Regions from separate parts of the Homo sapiens genome. Here all the other regions are linked to region 1. The links are contacts of gene promoters, found by promoter capture Hi-C in blood cells and fetal thymus (Javierre and others, 2016). All regions are on one chromosome and are shown on one strand. The core of a region is centred on a gene start or on the middle of the fragment in contact, and the rest is flanking DNA. Distances in the headings are between cores, read along the strand shown. Region 1 holds the start of TNFAIP8L2 (TNF alpha induced protein 8 like 2). Region 2 overlaps MINDY1 (MINDY lysine 48 deubiquitinase 1). Region 3 holds the start of CERS2 (ceramide synthase 2).

Evidence for each region. Contacts are between HindIII fragments. The CHiCAGO score rates a contact against its expected background, and 5 or more counts as called.
Region 2: a contact is called between a fragment that was not itself captured here and the fragment with the promoter of TNFAIP8L2 in region 1, in 7 of 17 cell types (megakaryocytes, M2 macrophages, erythroblasts and 4 more). The highest score is 9.6, in megakaryocytes.
Region 3: the fragment with the promoter of CERS2 here is called in contact with the fragment with the promoter of TNFAIP8L2 in region 1 in 7 of 17 cell types (naive CD8 T cells, total CD8 T cells, naive CD4 T cells and 4 more); the score reaches 6.7 in naive CD8 T cells.

Annotation. Positions count from the first base shown.
Region 1 is chr1:151,154,538-151,158,244 of GRCh38, reverse strand. It overlaps TNFAIP8L2 (TNF alpha induced protein 8 like 2), which reads right to left and starts at 1,596. Exons shown (of 2, transcript NM_024575.5): 1 at 1,523-1,596. TNFAIP8L2-SCNM1 (TNFAIP8L2-SCNM1 readthrough) reads right to left here and starts at 1,596. Exons shown (of 7, transcript NR_144937.2): 1 at 1,523-1,596. It also overlaps a transcript of LYSMD1 not described here. The HindIII fragment of the contact is 1,285 bases long and covers 1,586-2,870 here.
Region 2 is chr1:150,998,729-151,002,418 of GRCh38, reverse strand. MINDY1 (MINDY lysine 48 deubiquitinase 1) reads left to right here. Exons shown (of 10, transcript NM_001376665.1): 2 at 1-254; 3 at 637-694; 4 at 1,105-1,169; 5 at 1,804-1,962; 6 at 2,455-2,557; 7 at 2,908-3,050. Among named protein-coding and RNA genes, the nearest start is that of MINDY1, 6.3 kb to the left of the region's middle. The HindIII fragment of the contact is 1,422 bases long and covers 1,243-2,664 here.
Region 3 is chr1:150,972,632-150,976,496 of GRCh38, reverse strand. It overlaps CERS2 (ceramide synthase 2), which reads left to right and starts at 1,662. Exons shown (of 11, transcript NM_022075.5): 1 at 1,662-1,878. RefSeq lists silencers at 1,358-1,797, 1,818-2,307, a cis regulatory region at 2,483 and enhancers at 2,411-2,555, 2,513-3,444. The HindIII fragment of the contact is 5,677 bases long and covers 1-2,165 here.

The DNA of each region.
Region 1 (3,707 bases), core at 347-2,846:
TTCAAGCTATTCTCCTGCCTCAGCTTCCCAAGTAGTTGGGATTACAGGCACCCACCACCACGCCCGGCTAATTTTTGTATTTTTAGTAGAGACAGCGTTTCACCATGTTGGCCAGACTGGTCTCGAACTCCTGACCTCATGATCTGCCCACCTCGGCCTCCCAAAGTGCCGGGAATACAGGCGTGAGCCACCACGCCCAGCCTGACAGAATTCTTACAGCTACCATTTTTGGACACTGACTCTGTGCCATATGTCTGTGTGGCATAGATATTACCATCCTTGTTTTACAGCTAAGCAAATGATACTTACATTAAGTAATTTACCCAAGATCAAACGCAACTCATTTTTTGGCCCCCAAAGCCAGTGGCAGCTAGTGCACTATACTTCCTTTAAAGTAAGAAGCATAAGCATCCCAGGAATCCTAATAGGAGTAATAACTAACATTTACTGAGAACCTACTATATGCAAGTGCTTTACGTCAGTCATCTTAGCCTTCCCAATCCTGTGTAAGGTTAGGGTAGGTATCCCCATTTTGCAATGAGAAAACTGAAGCGAAGAGAAATATAGCAATTTGGCCAAAGTCACTAGTAAATTATAAAGATGGGCTTCAAACCAAATAATCCAGAGAAACCTCCTTCCCCGGAATGCTCCCAGTGTGGTTAAAGCACACTGAGGAAGCACGAGAAGCCAACACCTCAAGAAGGGCAGGCAGTCCTGAAGGTCTGAGCCTTCTGCTACACTGAACTCAGGACCCTCTTGGTGGCATATCAGCTCCATGTGTCCAGGGTTCTCTCCCCATGGTCTTCGCCTGTGGTTCTTCTGGTTGTTTTGCTTCTTACTTCCCCCTCCTCTGCTCTGCAGGATGTGGCTGTGACCGCAGTGAGGAGCAGCCTCGCCCTCTCCCCCAAACCAAAATGGGAGTCTGAAGAGGCAGAGGAGGTGGAGACTGTGGGGGTTTTTTTCCCCAGCTGAATCCTTCCAGTGGAAACCTGAACCTTGCTTTGCTCCCAGCTTGCCTTGGGGCTTTCTGGACCATGCTCCCCAGCCGGAAGAGGAGATTGCTCCATGTGAGCCTTCCTTCCTCCTTGGCCTTCCTGTTACCCAGCTCTCCATTGCCCCCATTGCCGTCTCACATTTATTCCGCTGTCTTCTCCCTCTCTCCCTGTTTCAGTCTCCCTTTTTCTCTTGTCTGGGTCCTCCCTATGATCCTCTGGCCTGGCCATACTCTCCCTCTGGCCCTTACCCATCTATCTCCTTGTTTCCTAAGATTTCCTTGCATTTCGCACACATCCATATGGATGTGGATCCACCTGCATCCCTCAGCCCTGCCCCCACCGCATCCAAAACCAGGTCTTTCAGAGGCTGCCTTGCCACCAGAAAAACTAAGCTAAGCTCTACAAAGGACCCAAGAATTGTACAAGCGAGAGTTTCACAATATGAAAAGCTAAGACTGAAAGAGCTAGAGATTCCTCTGCCACCATTACCCCTAAAGTCTACCATTCTGTCACTGCCGGTCCCTCACCTGCTGTGCTGGGTGCCAGTCTTGCCTTGGATGTTCCCGGAAAGCTTACAGAATGGAGAAGCTTCACTTAGTGTGAGAGCCCTTTGGCTTGGCCCCACCCCTTGAGCCCCGCCTACCTACTCTCTGCTTAACCTCCGGTTCATCACTTCTGTCACCAAGAAGGCCTATGGCCCAAGAGCAACCTAGAAATAAGACAAAGGTCAAAAAGAGTGGAATTCTGTTGGAAATAGTCTCAATTCTTTGAAGGGGGGAAAGGGATTTGCATCCTCCACTCTCAAATTGCTTCTTTCTTTTCTTGCTGCCCAGTTCCTGAAGATCCTGTCCTTACATTTCTACAGTACTGGGAAGGATGTAAAGCCCAAATTTCTGGGGTAGGAGGTCAGTGGGAAAAGTTCTGAAGATTGAAAGGTGGTGCTGTGGGGCAAGTATTTAATATATTATTCCAGTGATTGCCAGGTAAGAGCACAGACTGTCACAACCCTTAATACTGAAGGGAGGAAGGTGCTGGGACCAGGGCTGCTGCACCACAGGTGACCAGCAGGTGCCAGCACAGCACTGAATCACTAGCGTAGAGGAACAAGCCTACTGAGTTGCCTTTTTTTTTTTTTTTTTTTTTTTTTTTGAGACAGAGTTTTGCTCTTGTTGCCCAGGCTGGAGTGCAATGGGGTGATCTCGGCTCACTGCAACCTCTGCCTCCCGGGTTCAAGTGATTCTCCTGCCTCAACCTCCCAAGTAGCTGAAATTACAGGCCTGTGCCACCATGCCTGGCTTATTTTGTATTTTTAGTAGAGACGGTTTCACCATGTTGGCCAGGATCGTCTTGAACTCCTGACCTCAGGTGATCCACCTTGGCCTTCCAGAGTGCTGGGATTACAGGTGTGAGCCAACGCACCCCGCAGGGCCTACTGAGTAGGCTACTGTAGTAGCTACTTTGTAGCTGCTAAAGGGATACAAAATGAGGGGAAGCCACAATTGGGTTTTGTTTGTTTGTTTGTTGTTTTGTTTTTGAGATAGGGTCTCACTCTGTCGCCCAGGCCACAGTGCAGTGGCATCATCACAGCTGACTGCAGCCTTGACCTCCTGGGCTCAAGAGCTCTTCCTACTTCAGCCTCCCAAGTAGCTGGGACCAGAGGCTCACAAGCCTTCCTTTTTTTTGTAGAGAGGAGGGTCTAACTATGTTGCCCAGGCTGAACTTCTAAGCTCAAGCAATCCTCCTACCTTAGTCTCCCAAAGTGTTGGGATTACAGGCGTGAGCCACTGCACCCATCCTGGAAGTCACAGTTGTTGAATGAGACAAAAACACTTGCTATCAAGAATCTTATGGGGAATCTGGCGAGGGAAATAAGCTTAAACATAAAGAACAGTAATACTAGTCAAACAATGCCATTAACTTTAATGGAGATTTAAATAATTTTGAGAGTAAAGAAGCTTAATTATGATAGGGCTGAAGAGGTAGACTTGGAAAGATAGATTCAACTACTTAATAGCCAGAGATGGGGAAGAAGTCCCAGATGATGGGGACGGCATAAGCACATGCAGGAAAAAAACAAAATACAGGACGTTCTCAGGAAGTGGTGATTTATGTCTGGAATGTAAGTTGTTTGAGAGATAAGTGAAGAAGGAAAAAGATCAGATCATGGCAAACTTTAAAAAAGTTGCCCCAGGCCGGGCGCGGTGGCTCATGACTGTAATCCCAGCACTTTGGGAAGCCAAGGTGGGTGGATCACCTGAGGTCAGAAGTTTGAGACCAGCCTGGCCAACGTGGTGAAACCCTGTCTCGGCTGGGCATGGTGGCTCACACCTGTAATCCCAGCACTTTGGGACACCGAGGTGGGCGGATCACGAGGTTAGGAGATCAAGACCATCCTGGCTAACATGGTGAAACCCCATCTCTACTAAAAATACAAAAATTAGCTGGGCATGATGGCACATGCCTGTAGTCCCAGCTACTCGGGAAGCTGAGGCAGGAGATTCGCTTGAACCAGGGAGGCAGAGGTTGTAGTGAGCCGAGATCGCGCCTCTGCCCTCCAGCCTGGTGATAGAGTGAGACTCGGTCTCCAAAAAAAGAAAAGAAAAAAGAAAAAGAATAAAGGGAATAAAAATATAAGAAGATGCAAATACAATAATAACTTCTGGATTCAGAATTCTGCTACCTAGTCTTTACCTGTTTTCCTCTCCAGCTTCA
Region 2 (3,690 bases), core at 704-3,203, 160 kb after region 1:
AGTCCCCTCTGCCTGAAGCTAGCTCAGCTCCACCGGGGCCAACCCTTGGGACACTGCCTGAAGTAGAGACAATAAGGGCATGCTCCATGCCCCAGGAGCTTCCTCAGTCCCCCAGGACCCGACAGCCTGAGCCAGATTTCTACTGTGTCAAGTGGATCCCTTGGAAAGGAGAACAGACACCCATCATCACCCAGAGCACTAACGGCCCTTGCCCTCTCCTTGCCATCATGAACATCCTCTTTCTTCAGTGGAAGGTAAGAGAACATGCAGTTAGGGGTGCAAAAAATATCAGGGAGTACTCTTCCCTGACTTACTTCCTTGATCATCCTGATGTCCTCAAACTAGTCAAAACTTTTCAGATTGTTCTCCCTATTTCTCCAGCTTGAGCAAATGAGATAAGATGTTCCTAAAAACAAAGAAAAAAAAAAAAGAGGAAGATCTGTCCTACCCCTGTATCTCCTACTCCCTAGCAAATGCACATGCCTTGCAAGATTTCACATTCATTCCCTTGTGCCAGTTGCAAGCCTTTTTTCCTACCCCACCCTACTACTGGAGCTCCCCCTTGCCTTTCCATGGGTTCTTCCTTCAGTGCTCTTTGGAGGAAAGCACACACGTGATCACCCCTTCTGCCTCCAGGTGAAGCTCCCCCCGCAGAAGGAAGTGATCACATCGGATGAGCTCATGGCCCATCTTGGTGAGTGACTGGGCGTTGAAGAGGAATTACCCAAGGGGCTCCAGAGCTATCCACTCAGCCAGAAATCCAGACTATTCAGGGATCTCCATTTGGGGGTTCTGATACAGCAGGGAGGGTAAGGGTCTATGGGGCTTCTCTGCAAGGCTGGAGAATGAAAAGCAAAGGCGTCGGGAGTCCTGGGTTGTAACACCAATTCTGCCCTTAGCTTTTGTATCTGACCCTGGGTGGGCCGTTCACCTTTATGAGGCTGTCGCCTCCTCTGAGAAATGAAGAGTCTGGATTAGACTCTAAGTATTTTCCAGCTCTGAAAATCTGTGTTCTGTGACATTACCCGCATTCTCCAGGAGAAGAGGAAACTTAGCTTTTGGGATGATTGGTGGGGTAAGCTGATAAGGGGCCCTGTCTTGTAGGAAACTGCCTCCTGTCCATCAAGCCCCAGGAGAAGTCAGAGGGACTTCAGCTTAATTTTCAGCAGGTGAGGCAAAAGGTCTGCAGGCATAGGGGTTTGCAGGTTTGTAAGGGGACATCTTGTAATACTAAGATAAGCTTTTGTTGCTTCTTCAGAGGTTTCCTTGAACCATGATTTCATTCTGCAGGAGTCAGAGGAGAGTTTATCTTTGTCCTAGAAAATATGTTCATTGGCCGGGTGCTCACACCTGTAATCCCAGCACTTTGAGATGCCAAAGCGGGAGGATCACTTGAGGCCAGGAGTTCGAGGCCAGCCTGGGCAACATAATAATACCCCTGTCTCTAAAAAAAACCATTTTTTTTTTCAAGAATTAGCCAGGTATGGCGGTGCGTGCCTGTAGTCCCAGCTACTCAGGAGGCTGAGGTGGGAGGGTCACTTGAAACCAAGAGTTTGAGGCTGCAGTGAGCTAGGATCACACCACTGCACTCCAGCCTGGATGAAAGAATTAGACTTAGACTCTCAAAGAAAAACAATGTTCATTTATATAAGATAGAGAAGGGTTGAGGCAAGGGAGAAATGGAGTGGCTTGTAAGAGAATCAGGGAAGAAGAGCAGCAAGGTTAATTTTTAATTTCTGCAGGTGGGAGTGGAGTGGTGGGAGAGAAGGCTAGAATCTCCATCATTTTTTTTTCTACCCCCAGAATGTGGATGATGCAATGACAGTGCTGCCTAAACTGGCCACAGGTCTGGATGTCAATGTGCGATTCACAGGCGTCTCTGATTTTGAGTATACACCCGAGTGCAGTGTCTTTGACCTGCTAGGCATACCTCTGTACCATGGCTGGCTTGTTGATCCACAGGTGAGGGTGGGAGGGCCCACTGGGACCTTATCCAGCTCAAGCTGACATGAGAGAGGCAAATTTTTGTCGGGTAGAGGTTAGGGAGTTAGGGGTTAGATTGGCTTGGGAGGGAAATAGTGTTTAGAGACTGGACCCAGTACAGAATTCCTTGAATTTTAATCTATTTTGGGGGTAACATGCAAATACAAGCAAACTACATGCAAATAGGTCAGTTCTTTAGACATCAAAAATTCAGGAAGCAGATGGGTTTGGTGGCACATGCCTGTATTCCCAGCTACTTGGGAGGAGTTCGAGGCCAGTCTGGGCAACATAGCAACCCTATGATGAATGGTTCCTGAAATTTTTTTCTTTTTTGAGAGACCAAAAAAAAAAAGTGTTTAGGAACCATTCATCACAGGGTTGTAGTCCTTGTGAGCTTTGTTCATTTCCTTCCTTAAAAAAGAAAAAAAAATCCCAATTTTTTTGGTATCCCACATCCCACTACCCAAGCAGAGTCCTGAGGCTGTGCGTGCAGTTGGGAAACTGAGTTACAACCAGCTGGTGGAGAGGATCATCACCTGCAAACACTCCAGTGACACCAACCTCGTGACAGAAGGTGACATTCCTCCCCTTCTCATGGATAGTATGTGGAGGGAATGACAGCTACTTAGGCTTATTTTTTATTGGGTGTCATCTCCTACCACATCCCACTAGATATAAGCTTCACAAGAAGGAGCTTGGGGAATTTCTGTTTAGTTCATTGAGGTATCCCCAGTGCCTGGCACAAGGTAGCTGCTCTATTATAAGTATTTGTTAAGTGAATGAATACAGCCAGGTTTCAAGAAAGGGACGTCAGAAGGTGGGACTGACCCCCCGGGGCTTTTGACAGGGGCTCTCTGGATGGTCCTTCCTGTTGTGGACCTTGAATTTAAGCCAAGTTTCCCCCGACTCGTCCCTTTCTGGCAGGCCTGATTGCAGAGCAGTTCCTGGAGACCACCGCGGCCCAGCTGACCTACCACGGACTGTGTGAGCTGACAGCAGCTGCTAAGGAGGGTGAACTTAGCGTCTTTTTCCGAAACAACCACTTTAGCACCATGACTAAGCATAAGGTAATGCGAGTTTGGGGGTGGCGTGCTGCGGTGCTGTCATTTCCTGGTGCCTTTTTCTCGTGGGTCCAGCTGGGATCAGCTAGATTAAGCCGTGGTAGCAAGTGACCCCTCAAATCCCTGTGGTTTACCACAACAAAGGTTCATTTCCCGCTCCTGGTGCGTGTCCACTGTGGACTGGCTACGGTTCTGTCCCACACCATCTTCACTCTGGGACCCAGCTGACAAAAGATCCTTTATCTGGAATATATGTGGGAACAGAGAGAGAGAGGGGCACTGTGCACTCATGCTTAGAGCTTCTGTTTGGAAATGACACATGTCATTTCTGCTCACATCTTCTGGCCAGAGCAAGCCATAAGGGATAAGCCTGCCGTCGATGGGACAGGAAAGTATGATCCTCCCCTAGGAGGGGGCAGTGGAATTTTTAAACAATGCTGGTCTTCAAAAGTTAGAAACTGCCAAAGCTCTCTAGGATTTGAGCAGCAGAGGGAGGGGTCTCTGGTTCTCAAAGGATTTATCCTAAGAGCCATCAGGCAAGCCCAGAGAACAATGGGAAATGGGGGGAGCAGGGTCTTATGTGGCATCTCAGCCCCAACGACTCCATGCCACGCTTAGCCAGAATGACCACCGTGCTCACACCCAA
Region 3 (3,865 bases), core at 413-2,912, 180 kb after region 1:
TGGGAGCTGGTTAGGGGCCACCACTCTCATCTTTCCCATGGTGTGTCAGGGCTGCGGGTCCCCCTGAAAAGAGAGGCAGAACAAACAGTTGGGTCGGACAGCCTCTACCTCCTTACCCTCCAGAAAGGGCCTGAGATGAGGGATGGGCCCTCCAACTGGATTAGTGGGGGTTGCACTCCTTCCTACGAGTACTTGACCAGATAAACGGGGAAACAAGCTACTGTCAGAGGCTCTGATTGCAACAGCATAAAAAAGGCAATACTTCATCTAGGTGAGAAATTTGACAAAAGTACCTCTCCATGGAGTAAGCTGCAGCTCTCCCTGTATAGGAGCCCTCAAATACATCTTAGTCACCACTCGTTCACGTTAGGAGTTAAGACCAGCTTTCTAGGAAAACCATGTTGCATCTTCCAACAGTAATTACTTCTGAAACAGTAATTTTACCACACGACTCAAGGGGAAAACTTTTTTTTTTTAAATTTATAAAGGAGTTGGGGGTCTCGCTATGTTGACCAGGCTGGTCTTGAACTCTGACCTCAAGTGATCTGCCCACCTCGGCCACCCAAAGTGCTGAGATTACAGGCATAAGCCACGGCGCCAGGCCAAGGGGAGAACACTTTTTTTTTTTTTTTCCTGAGACGGAGTCTCACTCTGTCGCCCAGGCTGGAGTGCAGTGGCGAGATCTCGGCTCACTGCAAACTCCACCTCCAGGGTTCAAGCGATTCTCGTGGCTCAGCCTCCCGAGTAGCTGGGATTACAAGCGCGAGCCACCGTGCCCGGCTAATTTTTGTATTTTTAGTAGAGACAGGGTTTAACCATGTTGGCCAGGGTGGTCTCGAACGCCTGACCTCAGGTGATCTGCCCGCCTCGGCCTCCCAAAGTGCTGGGATTACAGGCGTGAGCCACCGCGCCCGGCCGGAAAACACTTTTTAACACGAAATCGAATACGGATAAACGTGGTGTCATTTGAAAACTCATACATTTTACAAAACAAAAGTTGGGGTGGCTCTTTCAGACAGGGCCGCCGGGTGTGCGCAAGTTCGGGTTTGCTCTTCCTTGCCACGGGGGTAGGTCCCGTAGCACCTAGGTGGAAAGGCCGCGGCTTTTACGGCGGGGTAGGCGAGGGTCGCCCGAGTGATCGCAGGCTCCGACTGGGTCTCGAGGGTCGGCTGCTTCGGTCTGCCCTGGAGAGGTTTTCAGCTTCGGCGCGAGGCACTTGGGCAGGATCCCCGGGCTGCACCCTCCTCCGCCCGCGCCCCGTGGGGCTGGAAGTGGGAATGTGCCCACCCTGGCGGGGACCGGGGGCCGCACAGCAGTTGGGGGTGGGTGGGGGTGGGTAGGAGTAAGGGGACAGGGACACCGCCGCTCGGAGCCCGGGACCCCGCGGCATCCAGTGCGTCTGTGTCGGTCCCAGTGGGAGACCTCCCACCCCGAAAAGAGACCGAAGTGGCGGAAGGAGCCCGCACCCGCCTCCCCAGGTCGGCGGTTTCTCTAGCGCAAGGTGACGGGCGTGGACGCGGCTGTGGGGCCGGGAGCGGAGGGTTGGGGTCTGGCCTCCCGCGCCGGGGCGAAGGGGCAGCCGCAGCGCAGAGGCCCGCCCCGCCCTCCCCTCCCGTCACGCCCAGCCTCCCGGCCCTTGGGCTGCTCGCGGCCTTTTTTTCCCGGCTGGGCTCGGGCTCAGCTCGACTGGGCTCGGCGGGCGGCGGCGGCGGCGCCGGCGGCTGGCGGAGGAGGGAGGGCGAGGGCGGGCGCGGGCCGGCGGGCGGGCGGAAGAGGGAGGAGAGGCGCGGGGAGCCAGGCCTCGGGGCCTCGGAGCAACCACCCGAGCAGACGGAGTACACGGAGCAGCGGCCCCGGCCCCGCCAACGCTGCCGCCGGGTGAGTCGGGGCCCCCGCCCGGCGCCCGAGCCCCGCGCGGGGGTGGGAAGGGGCTGCGGAAAAGTTGGGAGCCCCGGGTGCCGCTTTGTCGCGGGGCCGCGGAGGGGTCGGGCTGGGAAGGCCGCGGGGCCGGGGCGAGGAGGGAGGCGGCGCTGGCGGGGGGCGCTGCGGGCGCTCATGGCGGCGGCCGCCGGGTAAGGCGGGCGCAGCGCCTCAAGGGAGCGGCCGGGGCCGGCGGGCCTGGCGCCGCGGTGTCCGCGGCAGCGCCGCCCTGAGCCGGAGAAGCTTTCCCGGGCAACAGGTAGGGCGGAAGGTGGGGACGCGGGGGCTGCGGGCGACGGGGCCGAGCCGTGGGCTTCCCTTTGTTGGGGAGTGGAGGAGCTTGGTGACCATTGGCGCGAGAGCCTCCACCCTGGCAGCGGCCCGCGGGGTTGCCCTGGCCTGGACGCGTCCTGTGGCTTGGGTGGGAGGAGAGGGGAGGGCCCTGCCCCGTTTTCTTCCTACCGGCCCACCGTGCCCACCTCGCAGGCGAGGTCAGAGCTTCCATGTGCTTAACGGGAAACAGGAAGGAGCGGCCCGGAGCGCCTGCCCCGGCCCGGTAGGGCTAAGGCATACCGTTATGAGGTGTGGATGGCTGGCAAGGGAGCTCCTGGTGGAACTGGCTTTCTGGGCCGTAGCTTGTTAATCACTAGAGGCCCGTGGCAAGTGGGTTGACTGCAGGTGTAGAGCACTCATCTTTAGCCTGCAGTTGGAGTCTCTCCCTCCCTAAGCCTAGCTCCTGGCATCAAAACCTGGTTTCAGTCACCTGAGTTGCCAGGCCCAGGTTCAGGGGGTTCTGAGGATCGTGGCGAATGCAGTGAGCCCCTGTTCCTGGAGAAGTGAGTCCGAGCAGGCCTCCAGCAGGCAGTCACCCCCATATCTGTGCTGGGGCAGGGGTGGGTGGCGGTTGCTGCCGCATACCGGAGTCGGGATGACCGCACCGGGGTGTGAGTGGCTGCACATGTAAAGGGGCTCCTAAGGGTAAGGACTTGCCTGCAGTCCTGTCCCTGAGGACCTGGCGCTGACCATACCGTGATCTGCACAGTCTGTTCCAGAGAGGGATCCTTTTCTCCCCTGGTCCCCCACTTCCCTCACTGGGGCCTCTGGCCAGATTTTCCCCTGGGAGGAAGGGCCTCCTTTTACCCCTGTCACTGGCCATAGGCTGGCTGATCCCTCACTGTGTCCTTCAACACCGCCCCAGCTGTCTCTCAAACCCACCGGCGTCTCCCTGCCCCTGGGGCCATAGTCTCATGCAGTGTTTTGGTCCGTGGAGGCCTTTGGTGGGACTTTGCAGACAAGCTGTAGGCCAGATGAGGCTGAGGACTACTGTTCTGACTGCCTCTCACCCACCTCTTTTTTACAATCTGGCTTATTTTGAGGCCCATCCTGCAGCCTGGAGGGATAACACACCTCTCATTGGCTCCATCCATGGCTTGTAGACTTCTAGTACATGACCTGCTTCTGTTGCCTGAAAGTTTTCAACAAGGAAGACTATTCAGGACTTCTTCAGTGGAAGCAGGGAGCCGGTGGGACCTTTGTCACTCCTCCCTTGTCAACAACTCCTTTCTATTTTCCTCAGTTATTCTTCCAAACTATGAGAGCCAGTCAGACTGACCACCTGGAGTCTGAGAGAATTCCTTCCTCTCAGGCCGAAACTTCTGCCTTCTCAGCCGTTTGGATCTACAAACTCCCATGGGGATCCTCTGCTCCTTTCATCCACCTAGAGGGGTCTTGTGGGGGTGTCAGTCAGAGTTGGGGCAAAGGTTGGGGCTGGACAGAGTCCTGCTCAAGTTCCTGCTAATCTAATGCCAGTTAAATCCCTGCTCTTCTGGCCCCTCTCCAGCCTGTGCCTCAGAAAGTGGCATCTGTGCCTCCAAGGCAGGTGTGTGTGAGAGAGAGCGTAGACAGATACCATGTCTCTTCATGTGTATGGGGGAGTGAAGTCTGG